2 separate regions of the Homo sapiens genome follow, and region 2 is linked to region 1. Evidence: promoter capture Hi-C in 16 types of primary human blood cells and fetal thymus (Javierre and others, 2016). All regions are on one chromosome and are shown on one strand. Each heading gives the region's core, a stretch centred on a gene start or on the middle of the fragment in contact. The rest is flanking DNA. Distances are from core to core; before and after follow the strand shown. Region 1 holds the start of SOX12 (SRY-box transcription factor 12). Region 2 overlaps CSNK2A1 (casein kinase 2 alpha 1).

The links. Contacts are between HindIII fragments. The CHiCAGO score rates a contact against its expected background, and 5 or more counts as called.
Region 2: a fragment that was not itself captured here is called in contact with the fragment with the promoter of SOX12 in region 1 in 1 of 17 cell types (fetal thymus); the score reaches 5.7 in fetal thymus.

Annotation. Positions count from the first base shown.
Region 1 is chr20:321,171-327,336 of GRCh38, forward strand. SOX12 (SRY-box transcription factor 12) reads left to right here and starts at 4,382. Exons shown (of 1, transcript NM_006943.4): 1 at 4,382-6,166. The coding sequence starts at 4,755. The coding sequence ends at 5,702. NRSN2-AS1 (NRSN2 antisense RNA 1) reads right to left here and starts at 4,082. Exons shown (of 3, transcript NR_109990.1): 1 at 3,972-4,082; 2 at 1,208-1,395. RefSeq lists silencers at 3,252-3,511, 4,072-4,381, 4,492-4,871, 4,942-5,001, 5,022-5,511 and 2 more. The HindIII fragment of the contact is 3,425 bases long and covers 3,885-6,166 here.
Region 2 is chr20:484,772-490,271 of GRCh38, forward strand. CSNK2A1 (casein kinase 2 alpha 1) reads right to left here. Exons shown (of 14, transcript NM_177559.3): 10 at 5,009-5,110; 11 at 3,907-4,007; 12 at 2,656-2,804; 13 at 1,605-1,691. Among named protein-coding and RNA genes, the nearest start is that of TBC1D20, 25 kb to the left of the region's middle. The HindIII fragment of the contact is 9,998 bases long and covers 1-5,500 here.

The DNA of each region.
Region 1 (6,166 bases), core at 3,132-5,631:
GAGAATGGCGTGAACCCGGGAGGCGGAGCTTGCAGTGAGCCGAGATGGCGCCACCGCACTCCAGCCTGGGTGACAGAGCAAGACTCCATCTCAAAAAGAAAAAAAAAAAAAGAATTTGTGAACATGTTTTTGAAACACAAGAAAATTTCCAGCTGATCTTTCCCCCCAAATTTCCCTCCTCCAATCCAACTACAACACATGAAACTCCTTAATCTTGCTGAAGCGTACCTCTGATCATGTCATCCTGCAATAAAAAAACTGTCCCTGGCTCCCCACAACCCAGGGAACTCCATAACTTGGCTTCTGAGGACCAACTACCGTATTGCCCTTCAGCTCCAGCTCAACATAAACGCATCGTATTCCTCATGTACACTCCCCCATCTCTGGTCTTGGCACCTATCCATGCCCTCTCAATACCTCGTCCCAGTCTCCTTCCCATCTCCAGTCCCTTGCACTTGCTGTTTCCTCTGCCTGGAATGTTTTACATGGATGGTTCTTCGTCATCTTGAGATCTAAACTCTCCCCCATCTCTATCATCCCCCGTCCCAGTCACTCACTCTCTCATTACCTTGTTTTCTTTTCATTGTCGTTTGAGACAGGGTCTCACTCTGTCCCACAGGCTGGGGTGCAGTGGTACGATCACAGCTCACTGCAGCCTCAACTTCCCGGGCTCAAACGATCTTCCTGCCTCAGCCTCCCAAGTAGCTAGGACTAAAGGCACAGGCCATCACACCTGGCTGTTTTGTATTTTTTGTAGAGACAGGCTTTTGCCATGTTGCCTAGGCTGGTCTTGAACTTCTAGGCTCAAGCATCTGCCCACCTCAGCCTCTCAAAGCGCTGGGATTTCAGATGTGAGCCACCTTGCCCAGCCCCTCCCTCCCTTCTTTCCATCACCCAGTCTGGGGTGCAGTGGCACCATCATAGCTCACTACAGCCTCAAAATCTCTGGCTTAAGCGTTTTCCCACCTCAGCCTCCCCAGAAGCTGAGATGACAGGTGCTTGCTACCATGCCCGGCTAATTTTTGAATTTTTGTGGAGGTGGGATTTCTCTATGTTACCCAGGCTGGTCTGAAACTCCTGGGCTCAAGCGATTCTCCCGCCTTGGCATCCCAAAGTGCAGGGATTACAGGCGTGAACCACCACACCCAGCCCAGCTTTATTTTCTTTATAGCAGTCACAACTATCTGAAATTATCTTATTTGTTTACCTGCTCTTTTCTGTTGCCCTCACTTGCTCCTTAAGAACAGGGACCTCTGTCTTGGTCACTGCTGTAACCCAGTAGCCCCAGTTCCAAGTTCACTGCCTGGTGCACAGTAGGTGGCCAATAAATTGTTGAATTAAATGTCCTCTCTTCCAGGGAGTTGTTTTAGAAAGAATCACACACTGCATAAATGTCTGTTGAGGAAGAAAATGAAAAAAACAAAAGTGAAGACATTATCTTCTCGGCTGAACTTCCCACACCATCTTCTCTGTCATTAATAAGTCCTGGTGTCTACACTGGGGAAGGCAGTCCAAGGTTCTTCCAGGGCCTAGGTTCAGCCAGACTTTAACCATCTCTAGCTCCTCAGAGTCCGTCAAAGGGCCTAAGGAATGGTAAGTATTAATAATGTTTGTTTATGTATTTATTTATTTATTTATTTTGAGATAAAGTCTCTGTCTCCCAGGCCGGAGTGCAGAGGTACAATCATTACAACTTCCACCTTTCCGGCTCAAGCAATCCTCCTGCCTCAGCCTGCCAAGTAGCTAGGACTACAGGCAGGCACCACCCTGCCCAGCTAATTTTTGTACTTTTTTTTGTAGAGTAAGGGTTTCACCATGTTGCCCAGGCTGGTCTTGAACTCCTGGCCTTAAGTGATCTGCCTGCCTCAGCCTCCCAAAGTGCTAAGACTACAGCTGTGAACCACTGTGCAGGGTCAAATGTTTATTAATGGATGCATGCATGGATGGAAGAAGGAAAGGAGGCAGGTGTGAATAATGAATGCAGCATTTTCACTGCTGAGAATAAAGAGTGAAATCCTGGTCCAAATCAGTTTGGCAGTGAGTAAGGTTAGGAACTATTCACATACATTGGAATAATAATAGCAGCAGCAGCTACAGGGTCAGAGACAGATCTTTGAGAGGCCATAAGCATTGAAAAGATTGTGGTACCTATCACACACCGTCTAAAATAAAACAAATATTTTATTTATGGGAAAAGTGTTAAGGTGTTGATAATTCCAAGAAAGCTTTTATTTGTCCTACAATCATTACTTTGATACCTTTTCTGAAATCCTAGAGCTGTCCCCACTCTGCCCATTTTTTTTTCTCATTATGGTGATGTCTCTGGGTTGCTGGTGACCTGCGTAACTATTGGGAAATCTAGTTTCTCAAAACTTTTAGTTTTTTTTTAGACAGGGTCTCACTCTGTCACTCAGGCTGGAGTGCAGCGGCTCACTGCAACATCCGCCTCCTAGGTTCAAGCGATTCTCATACCTCAGTCTCCTGAGTAGCTGGGATTACAGGTACGCGTCACCAAGCCTGACTCATTATTTTGTACTTTTAGTAGAGACAAGGTTTCACCATATCGGCCAGGCGGATCTCGAACTTCTGACCTCAAATGATCCGCCCGCCTTGGCTTCCCAAAGTGCTGGGATTACAGGTGTGAGCCACCGCGTCCCGTCTATCATAAGTTTTATTGAACATTGCCTAGGTATCAGGATGTGTTTACATGCATTATCTCATTTAATCTGTAAAACCACCATGTGAGGGAGAAACTGAATTATCCCCATTTTCAGGATAAGGAAAAGGAGGGACTGGGAATGTGAACTCAGGAAGTGTGACTCCATCGGGTAGACTGCTCAGGCTGCAGATGTAAAGGTTTTACACGTAGGCTTTTCCAGATCTCAGCTTCTGAAAGGCGGAGGGACCGTTTGGACGGGAGCAGGGCCTCCTCTTCCAAGCACCCTGTGCCTTTAAGAGTCGCCCCCTCCCTCCAGGGATGCTCCAATTTCTTTCTCCCCACCACCCCCACCCCGCCCCCCGCGCCGCGGAGCCGCACCTCGGTCCTTCCTCCCCGCCCCACACCCTCAAGCTCGGCTCTTGGCCTTCGCTCGTCCAGAAGTGGGTGAGCTGTACCGCCAGAGGCGCATTCTCCTAGCCCCAAACCATGCCCGCTACGCCCCAGCGGAATGCCACCTTAAAGACCCTAATCCGGGCACCTCCCAGCTCCTGCTTCCCAAGGGCGAGGCCTCAGCGCCCCCTCCCATCGCCCATGCTCACGACGCCGTGAAGGTGACCTCCCCCAGGGGCGGCACACGCCCAGTGGTGCCCGAACTGGCTCACACGTGGTGAGCCGGGAGCGCGCGGCCCCTCCCCGCCACGCGCCTCGTGCCGGCCACCCGGCCACGCCCCCAGGACTGGCTCCGCCCCGTGCCCCTGCACGCTTCTCCAGGCTTGGGTGGGGCGACGCGCCCAAGTCGGGCACCGGGCAGGCTACGGGGTGGGGTAGGACCTGGGAATGGCGCACCCACGCATCCTCGAATGTCGCCTGCGGTTTGTGAAAAGCGGGAAGTCCGCCCAGCTCAGGACCTTTGGCTGGCAGGCGAGGTGCCCCGCGGCCCTTGGTGCTGAGCAGGGGAGAGACAGCTGGGACCGCGAGCCTGGGAATCGAATCCTAGTCTGCGTGTCCTCGGTGCTTCCTATTTGGAAACTGGGCATCATATTATCATATTCCCTTCTCCCTCCGGATTCTTATGGAGCTTCGAACGAGATTAAATATACATATATATGAGAAAGGGATTTGTTCACTAGGTCCAAAAGCATTTGCTGGTCCCATATGTGGTCGGACCCTGTGTGTAGTAGGCGGGGGGCAACATCTACGACAACCTGAGTTCGTCCCCTTAAGAAGCTTTCCTGAGTCTTGGGCCCCCCAAATTCTCTTCTGGGATGGTCCGAAAAGACGTCCCTGAAAGAGGAAAGGGCGGAAATCCTACCTGACGGCAGGTGTCTCGGAATGAGCTAAAATTTAAAAGGCAACGCGGGGCAGGGACAAGCGTCCAGCGTCAGATGGAAGCAGGCTCGCGTCCCCTACCCTTCCTCCAACCCCTAACCTAAGAAAAGAAACCGATCTCGCCGGTCTCCCCCAATCCTAGCCGCGAGACCGCCCAGCCCCGCAGCCCGAGCCCCGCCCCGCTCCGGCGGCCAGCGATTGGGAGATGCAAATACCGGCTTCTCTGCCCAGCAACGGGTGACGCGGCGCCCGAGCGCGAGGCGGGGCCCGGCCGCAGCCCAAGCGGGCACCTCGGTGTTTACACGGGGCGGCCCCGCGCGCGCCGCAGCGGCCCGCAGACGGCGAGGGGGAGGGGTGGTGCGCGCGCCGGCGGGGCCGCGCGGGGAGAAAGACACTGAAAGGCGTCGGCGGCCGGGCGGGGAGCGGCGCGCGCGGGCCGCGGCGGAGCCAGAGGCTGCAGGAAGAGCCCGCGGGGGCCCGGAGGGTGCGATTCCTCGGCCCCCGCAAAACAATGTGTGTTGTGAGCCAGGACGCAACTTGCCGGAGGCGGCGGGGGCGCGCCGAGCCCGCCTGAGACCGCGCTGACCTTCTCCCCCCGCCGTCCGTTGGGCCCGAGCGCCCAGCTCCTCGCTCCCCAGTTCGCGGGGGCCGGGCCGAGCCGCGGGGCGGGGCCGCCCCTCCGTCGCCGCTGCCTCCTCCCCCACCCCCAGCCGCGGAGGATGCGGACGGCCCCCGGCGGCGTCTAGCGGCCCCGGGCCCAGGCGCGATGGTGCAGCAGCGGGGCGCGAGGGCCAAGCGGGACGGCGGGCCGCCGCCCCCGGGACCCGGGCCGGCCGAGGAGGGGGCGCGCGAGCCCGGCTGGTGCAAGACCCCGAGCGGCCACATCAAGAGGCCGATGAACGCATTCATGGTGTGGTCGCAGCACGAACGGCGGAAGATCATGGACCAGTGGCCCGACATGCACAACGCCGAGATCTCCAAGCGCCTGGGCCGCCGCTGGCAGCTGCTGCAGGACTCGGAGAAGATCCCGTTCGTGCGGGAGGCGGAGCGGCTGCGGCTCAAGCACATGGCGGATTACCCGGACTACAAGTACCGGCCGCGCAAAAAGAGCAAGGGGGCGCCCGCCAAGGCGCGGCCCCGCCCCCCCGGTGGTAGCGGTGGCGGCAGCCGGCTCAAGCCCGGGCCGCAGCTGCCTGGCCGCGGGGGCCGCCGAGCAGCGGGAGGGCCTTTGGGGGGCGGGGCGGCGGCGCCCGAGGACGACGATGAAGACGACGACGAGGAGCTGCTGGAAGTGCGCCTGGTCGAGACCCCGGGGCGGGAGCTGTGGAGGATGGTCCCGGCGGGACGGGCCGCTCGGGGACAAGCGGAGCGCGCCCAAGGGCCGTCGGGCGAGGGGGCGGCCGCCGCCGCCGCCGCCTCCCCGACACCGTCGGAGGACGAGGAGCCGGAGGAAGAGGAGGAGGAGGCGGCAGCGGCTGAGGAAGGTGAAGAGGAGACGGTGGCGTCGGGGGAGGAGTCGCTGGGCTTTCTGTCCAGGCTGCCCCCTGGCCCGGCCGGCCTGGACTGCAGCGCCCTGGATCGCGACCCGGACCTGCAGCCTCCCTCGGGCACGTCGCACTTCGAGTTCCCGGACTACTGCACCCCCGAGGTTACCGAGATGATCGCGGGGGACTGGCGCCCGTCTAGCATCGCAGACCTGGTTTTCACCTACTGAGCCCACCGTCAGCGGGGCGCGCACGCCCCCAAACCAGCTGTTTACATACAGGAATCAGGTATTGGGGCCCCTCGGAGGCCGAGGCTGGCACCCCATCTCCCGCGCAGCCTGCCCCCTCCTGGACGTGCCCATCCCCCCTCAGATCCAGACATGCCCCTCCCCCGCAGACACACCCCAAGGCAGCCCAACCCCCACCCCTTCCCCGACACCCAAGCCCCTCCCCACGTCGCCCCCTCCTGCACAGCCACCAGCAGCCAGCCCCCTCCGATACACCTCCCGTCCTCTCCTACAGACCTGCACCCCTCCCCCCTTTTGCACACGCCCCTCCTCGTGGCCGGAGGACCCGCCCCCTCCTTTGCTCCGGAATCTCTCCTCCCTCGCCCGGCCCGCCTTCTCTGGGTTAGGGGGGCGATGCGGCCGGGTGGCAACGCACGCGCCTCCTGCGCCCCTCCCTTCCCTGGGGG
Region 2 (5,500 bases), core at 1,954-4,453, 160 kb after region 1:
AAAAGTATACAAAGGCCAGGTGCAGTGTCTCACGCCTGTAATGCCAGCACTTTGGGAGGCCAAGTTGGGCGGATCACCTGAGGTCAGGAGTTCAAGACCAGCCTGGCCAACATGGTGAAACCCCATCTCTACTAAAAATACAAAAATTAGCTGGGCGTCATGGCGGGCGCCTGTAGTCCCAGCTACCTGGGAGGTTGAGGTGGGAGAATCGCTTGAACCCGGGAGGCGGAGGCTGCAGCAGCTGAGATTGTGCCACTGCACTCCAGCCTTGGCCACAGAGCAAGACCTTGTCTCCAAAAAAAAAAAAAAAAAAAAAAAAAAAAAAAAAAAAAAAAAAAATATATATATATATATATATATATATATGAGAACATTATTATACATTCTTCTCCACTCCTCTTAGACATGGCTCTGCATCTCACTTTTTCTTTTGAGACAGAGTCTCACTCTCACCCAGGCTGGAGGGCAACGGTGCGATCTCGGCTCACTGCAACCTCTGCCTCCCAAGTTCAAGCGATTATCTTGCCTTAGCCTCCAAGTAGCTGGGATTAAAGGCGCCGCCGCCACGCCCAGCTAATTTTTTGTATTTCCAGTAGAGACAGGGTTTCGCCATGCTGGCCAGGCTGGTCTCGAACTCCTGACCTCAAGTGACCCACCCGCCTCAGCCTCCCAAAGTGCTGGGATTACAGGCATGAGCCACTGCACCTGGCCCTGCATCTTGCGTTTTAAATTTCACATTATTATATTGGAGTTGGAGATCTAACAGAACATGAAACTCTTATTCTACTGGCTGCACCACATTCCATTAAATGGATATACCATAACTGATTTAACCAGTTTCCTACTGATAGCTATTCTCAATGTTTTGTTATTACAAATAAGGCTACAAGTAAGTTTGGATATACATTACTCTGTACAGAGGTAGGATACTCAAGGGGTAAATTCTAGAAGGCAGTTAGTTCTTTTCTTAAAAAAGAGGAGGGCAACAGCAATTATTTGAGGATATGTAAGTAAATGCCTTCACTACCAGATATGCACCCACTTGGATGTTGCCTATATGTATAATTCTTATGCTATGTGCCTGTAGTTCCTTTGGAATAACTGGGTACTCTATAAAAATTCACTGTGCGTCACAATGATCCAATAATGGAAAACCATTTTACTTATGTTTTTACAACTGATAGGCACTCTATAGTTGCTCTGGCACATGTCACGGAACTGTCCTTGTACACATACACACCTATGTATAAACCCCACCTCTATACCCCATTTCTTAACATTGTTTCTAAGGGCCATGTAACTACTGTCATTTCAAACTATAAGATGAAATGGTGTATTTTTCCTTTTCATGGCTTGGCACTTTCAAGCCCCTATGCCAAAAATTTTCAGCCAGGAATGCTGAGATTCTAGCCTAGAAGGGGATACCCTACTCAAGACAGTATCACTAAAGTATACCAAATGTCAAGCATGCTGAAACCTGGTTAAAAAAAAGTCACAAGGCCACCAGTACGGAGAAGAGAAGGTATACAAGAAATCAGACCACAAAGCTAAGAACAGTAATTGACTTCCACATTTTTTTAAAGAAAATTTACCAATGAACTGACCTGACATCATATTGGCGCTGCTGACGGGCGTACTGCCCCCTGGCATGCTAGATGAACCCATTCGAGCCTGGTCCTTCACAACAGTGTCTAGAAAAGAGACAAAAAGGCTAGGTTCTGTTTTGCTTGAAAGATTAAACTAATGGTCTGGAAGCCTGAAAGCAGCCAGCTTCATTCTTTGCAATTTATATATACTCTACATTATTCCCCAAAGAACTTAAGGTGGCAATTGCCTTCACCATGAATTAGACAAGTGGTAAAAAGCAGAAATAGCTTTCCTATCAAACTGTGGTAAAAGCTAACCTTTCAATCAAATGGTAGAAAGATGAGGTAATTATTTATAGCAGAGCGAATTTAATGAAGCCCTGGTCCTGTTGAGGTTTAATGGAGACAAGACACTGTAACTCGGCAAAGACGGTAATATATTACCAGTGTGTCCACAGCCCAGTACCAAGTAGGCCAAAGCTATAGGTCCATGTAGCTTAGGGCTATGACCACATTCTCTATCCCAATCAGCCTATCTATCTGCTTCAGGTATTGGGCAAAAGTATAAATGATTCAGTACAAAACCATCACACCGAAGGAAAAATGTCATGTTGCAGCTAACATCACAGTGCAGATGGGGTGGGTCTCAGTGGTATTTTCACTTAGGATGGCACAGGTGGCTATACTCACAAATCTAAGTCAAGGTGTTCATACAATTTTAAGATTTGTAAGCCTCATTAGCTCTTTCCAACGAATGATTACTAGGGACAGGAAAGATACAGGGCTGTGTATTCTAATTCAACCATTCCAGACTGAGGCACTGAGAAGTGTCATCCTCACAGTATGAAAAGAGTTTATTTAGGAATGCTCTTGTGTCATGTATTCTGTTACAGAAGAATTCTTCCAGTAATTCTGCAATGTAGTTGCCATCACTATCCCCACTGGAAGAATCTGAGGCTCAGTGTGGGTGAATTAACTTTGCAGCAAGCTGACAGGAGCTGGGATTACGACTCTGTTCTATAGGACTCTGCGCCTGCACAAACTCTGTGGGCTAGATATCTGGACTCACAGAAATAGGGGTGCTCCATTGCCTCTCTTGCAGTAAGCCGTGACTGGTGGTCATATCGCAGCAGTTTGTCCAGGAAATCCAAGGCCTCAGGGCTGACAAGGTGCTGATTTTCACTGTGGACAAAGCGTTCCCATCGCTTTCGAGAGTGTCTGCAGGACCAAAAGAGGGCATGAGAAATGGGCCACGTGGGCACAGAAGCCCAACATTTCATTCCTACATTTTTCTTAGTGGCTAACAGCCCAGACAAAAGCAAAGAGGGATCCAAACTCAAGAGGGTAGTCTTGCACCGCTCTGCCACTGAGTGGGACAACAAAGCTAACTGGAGACTGGAAACAACATAGCTAGAGTGAAAAAAGACATCTGAGTCCTCTCAATTTTAAGAAACATAATTCAGGTTACTTGACAGGACGTGACCGCTTCTGTGTAGCAAGGAGGGTCAGGTGGCTGAGCTCACCAGGCCTATTTCCCATCCCCACACATATTCCTGGCATCTCTGCCAATTGGCCAGCAAAAGCCTTTGCATCAGGAAAGTCCATCTCCTCCTGTTGAGTGGTTAAGTGTATAAGTACTATATCTAGTCACTACTGTTAAGAGTCGGTTGTCTGCATATAGCCTTTTTTTTTTTTTTTTTGGAGACAGGGTCTCACTCTGTTGCCCAGACTGGAGCGCAGCCACATGTTCATTGCTCTCTGTAGCATTCCCTCCTGGGCTCAAGGGAAGCTCCTGCCTCAGCTTCCTAGTAGTCTGGACTACTGCCACACATCACCATGCATGGAGTCGAGGGTCTCATTATGTTGTCCAGGCTGGTCTCCAACTCCTGGGCTCAAGTGATCCTCCTAAAGTTCTGGGATTACAGATATGAGCCACCGTGCCCAGCCTGCACATCAGTCTTAAAGCATGCATTTTCTACTTCAATTTCTTTCTCTTGGAGAGAGGTTTTTCACTTAAAGAAGCAAGGTAAATTTTGATTTTTGCCTCAACTGTAACCCTTCTACTAGAATCTACATTCATTTTGTAGGAATCCTCTAGCTATAACCCCTCCATCAGACTCCTGTAAGTTAATTTGAATAAAGGGCCATTCAATCCAATGCCTTTATCAGAGGCCTGCTCAATGCAGCATCCTGTGGCACTGGACCACTGACATCCTGACAGTGCTGGCAAAGAAAACATAACTATTTTGAAGATCCTAAGTGCCAGTTCACTCTCAAAGTGCTTAAGCCACAGATGCACATATTTTGTTTCATGACTTACCTGCCCAAGATATCATTGAAACGTGGATCTAATTCAATGTTGTATTTGTCAATATAGTCATATAAATCTTCTGTCCCCAGAACCTTGGCTATCCTCACCAACTAGTATTAAAGAAAGACAAAAACCCATATCACAAGCATATTATATTAACAAATCAACAATTAACAATGATTGAATTTACATAAACGGGTCATCATGTCTACAGGTATGAATGCTACCTCCTAACAGTTTAGACTTCAACTCAATGTGATAGTGTTAGAAAAAGCAAACTACTTTATAAACTGGTTTCTTCCTCTTGAAATGTCACCCTGGTGAACCCTTATTTTTCTCCCCTCAAAACCCAATTGAAGATGTCACTTCTTTTGGGAAGCTCCCATTGCACACTCAAACTACTCACCACTACTGCCTTTTGTGCCTTGTCCACATTTCTACTCTGAAGTTATGACTGTAACCTATTTTGTTGTATGTTTGACTCCCTTACAAGATCAGCTATGAACTATCTGAGGGGAAGAAAACTATTCTTTCTTTTTTCTGTATTCCTCAGTACTGCATGCACTTGATACAGAGTTATTGACTTTAATGGAATTCAGGTTGTATTCTTTGACTCATTAAAATTGGACATGGTGCTCAAAGGGAACAAGACAATGGTACCTTCCACAAGGTCCTAGAATCATTCCAGGTTCTTGTGAATGAAAGAGCCCTTTGATCTTCAAGGGGGAAGTGGAGTTAGTTTAAGAAACATCTGTAACTCAACCCATATAAAGAGCCAAAAGGATCACAGAAATACCACATATGGGCTCACATATTGGAGAAAACACCATATTGGAGATAAGGGTTTATTAGGAGAATTCTAAGGTAATGTCCTATTTTAAAAATCTGGATGACAATTTATATGTATTCTTCACAATAAAATAAGCAATGCAAATGACAAAGACTAGGGGGGAATGTCTGATTTCAAAAGGCTAAGCTGGTAGCTCCCGAAACATCAATCTAAGGATCAATATCGGGGTGGCTGAATAAACAGTGAACTGAAAGTTACAGGCAGTGCTGGCTATCATTGCATTAGGCCAGTACATTTTTCAATGGGTATAACATATATTACCTGATCATAATTGTCATGTCCATGGAAAAATGGCTCCTTCCGAAAGATCATACTTGCCAGCATACAACCCAAACTCCACATATCCAAACTATAATCGTACATCTGCATAAAAGTAAACTCACTGTTATTATCTGTGAATCCTCAGGCTTGTCACTTCAAAATAAAAAATTAATTTTTAAAATTAAAAAAAAATCACTCCACTGACTCAAAATCAAAACACTAATAACATCTTCATATATTTCTTTTTAGTCTTTCTTTTTTTTTTTTTTGGAGACAGAGTCTCACTCTGCTGCCCATGCTGGAGTGCAGTGGCGCAATCTTGGCTCACCACAACCTCCGCCTCCCGGGTTCAAGCAATTCTCCTGCCTCAGCCTCCTGACTAGCTGGGACTACAGGCGCGTGCCACCATGCCTGGCTAATTTTGTATTTTTAGTAGAGACGGGGTTTCACTACGTTGGCCAGTGGTCTCAAACTCCTGACCTCATGATCTGC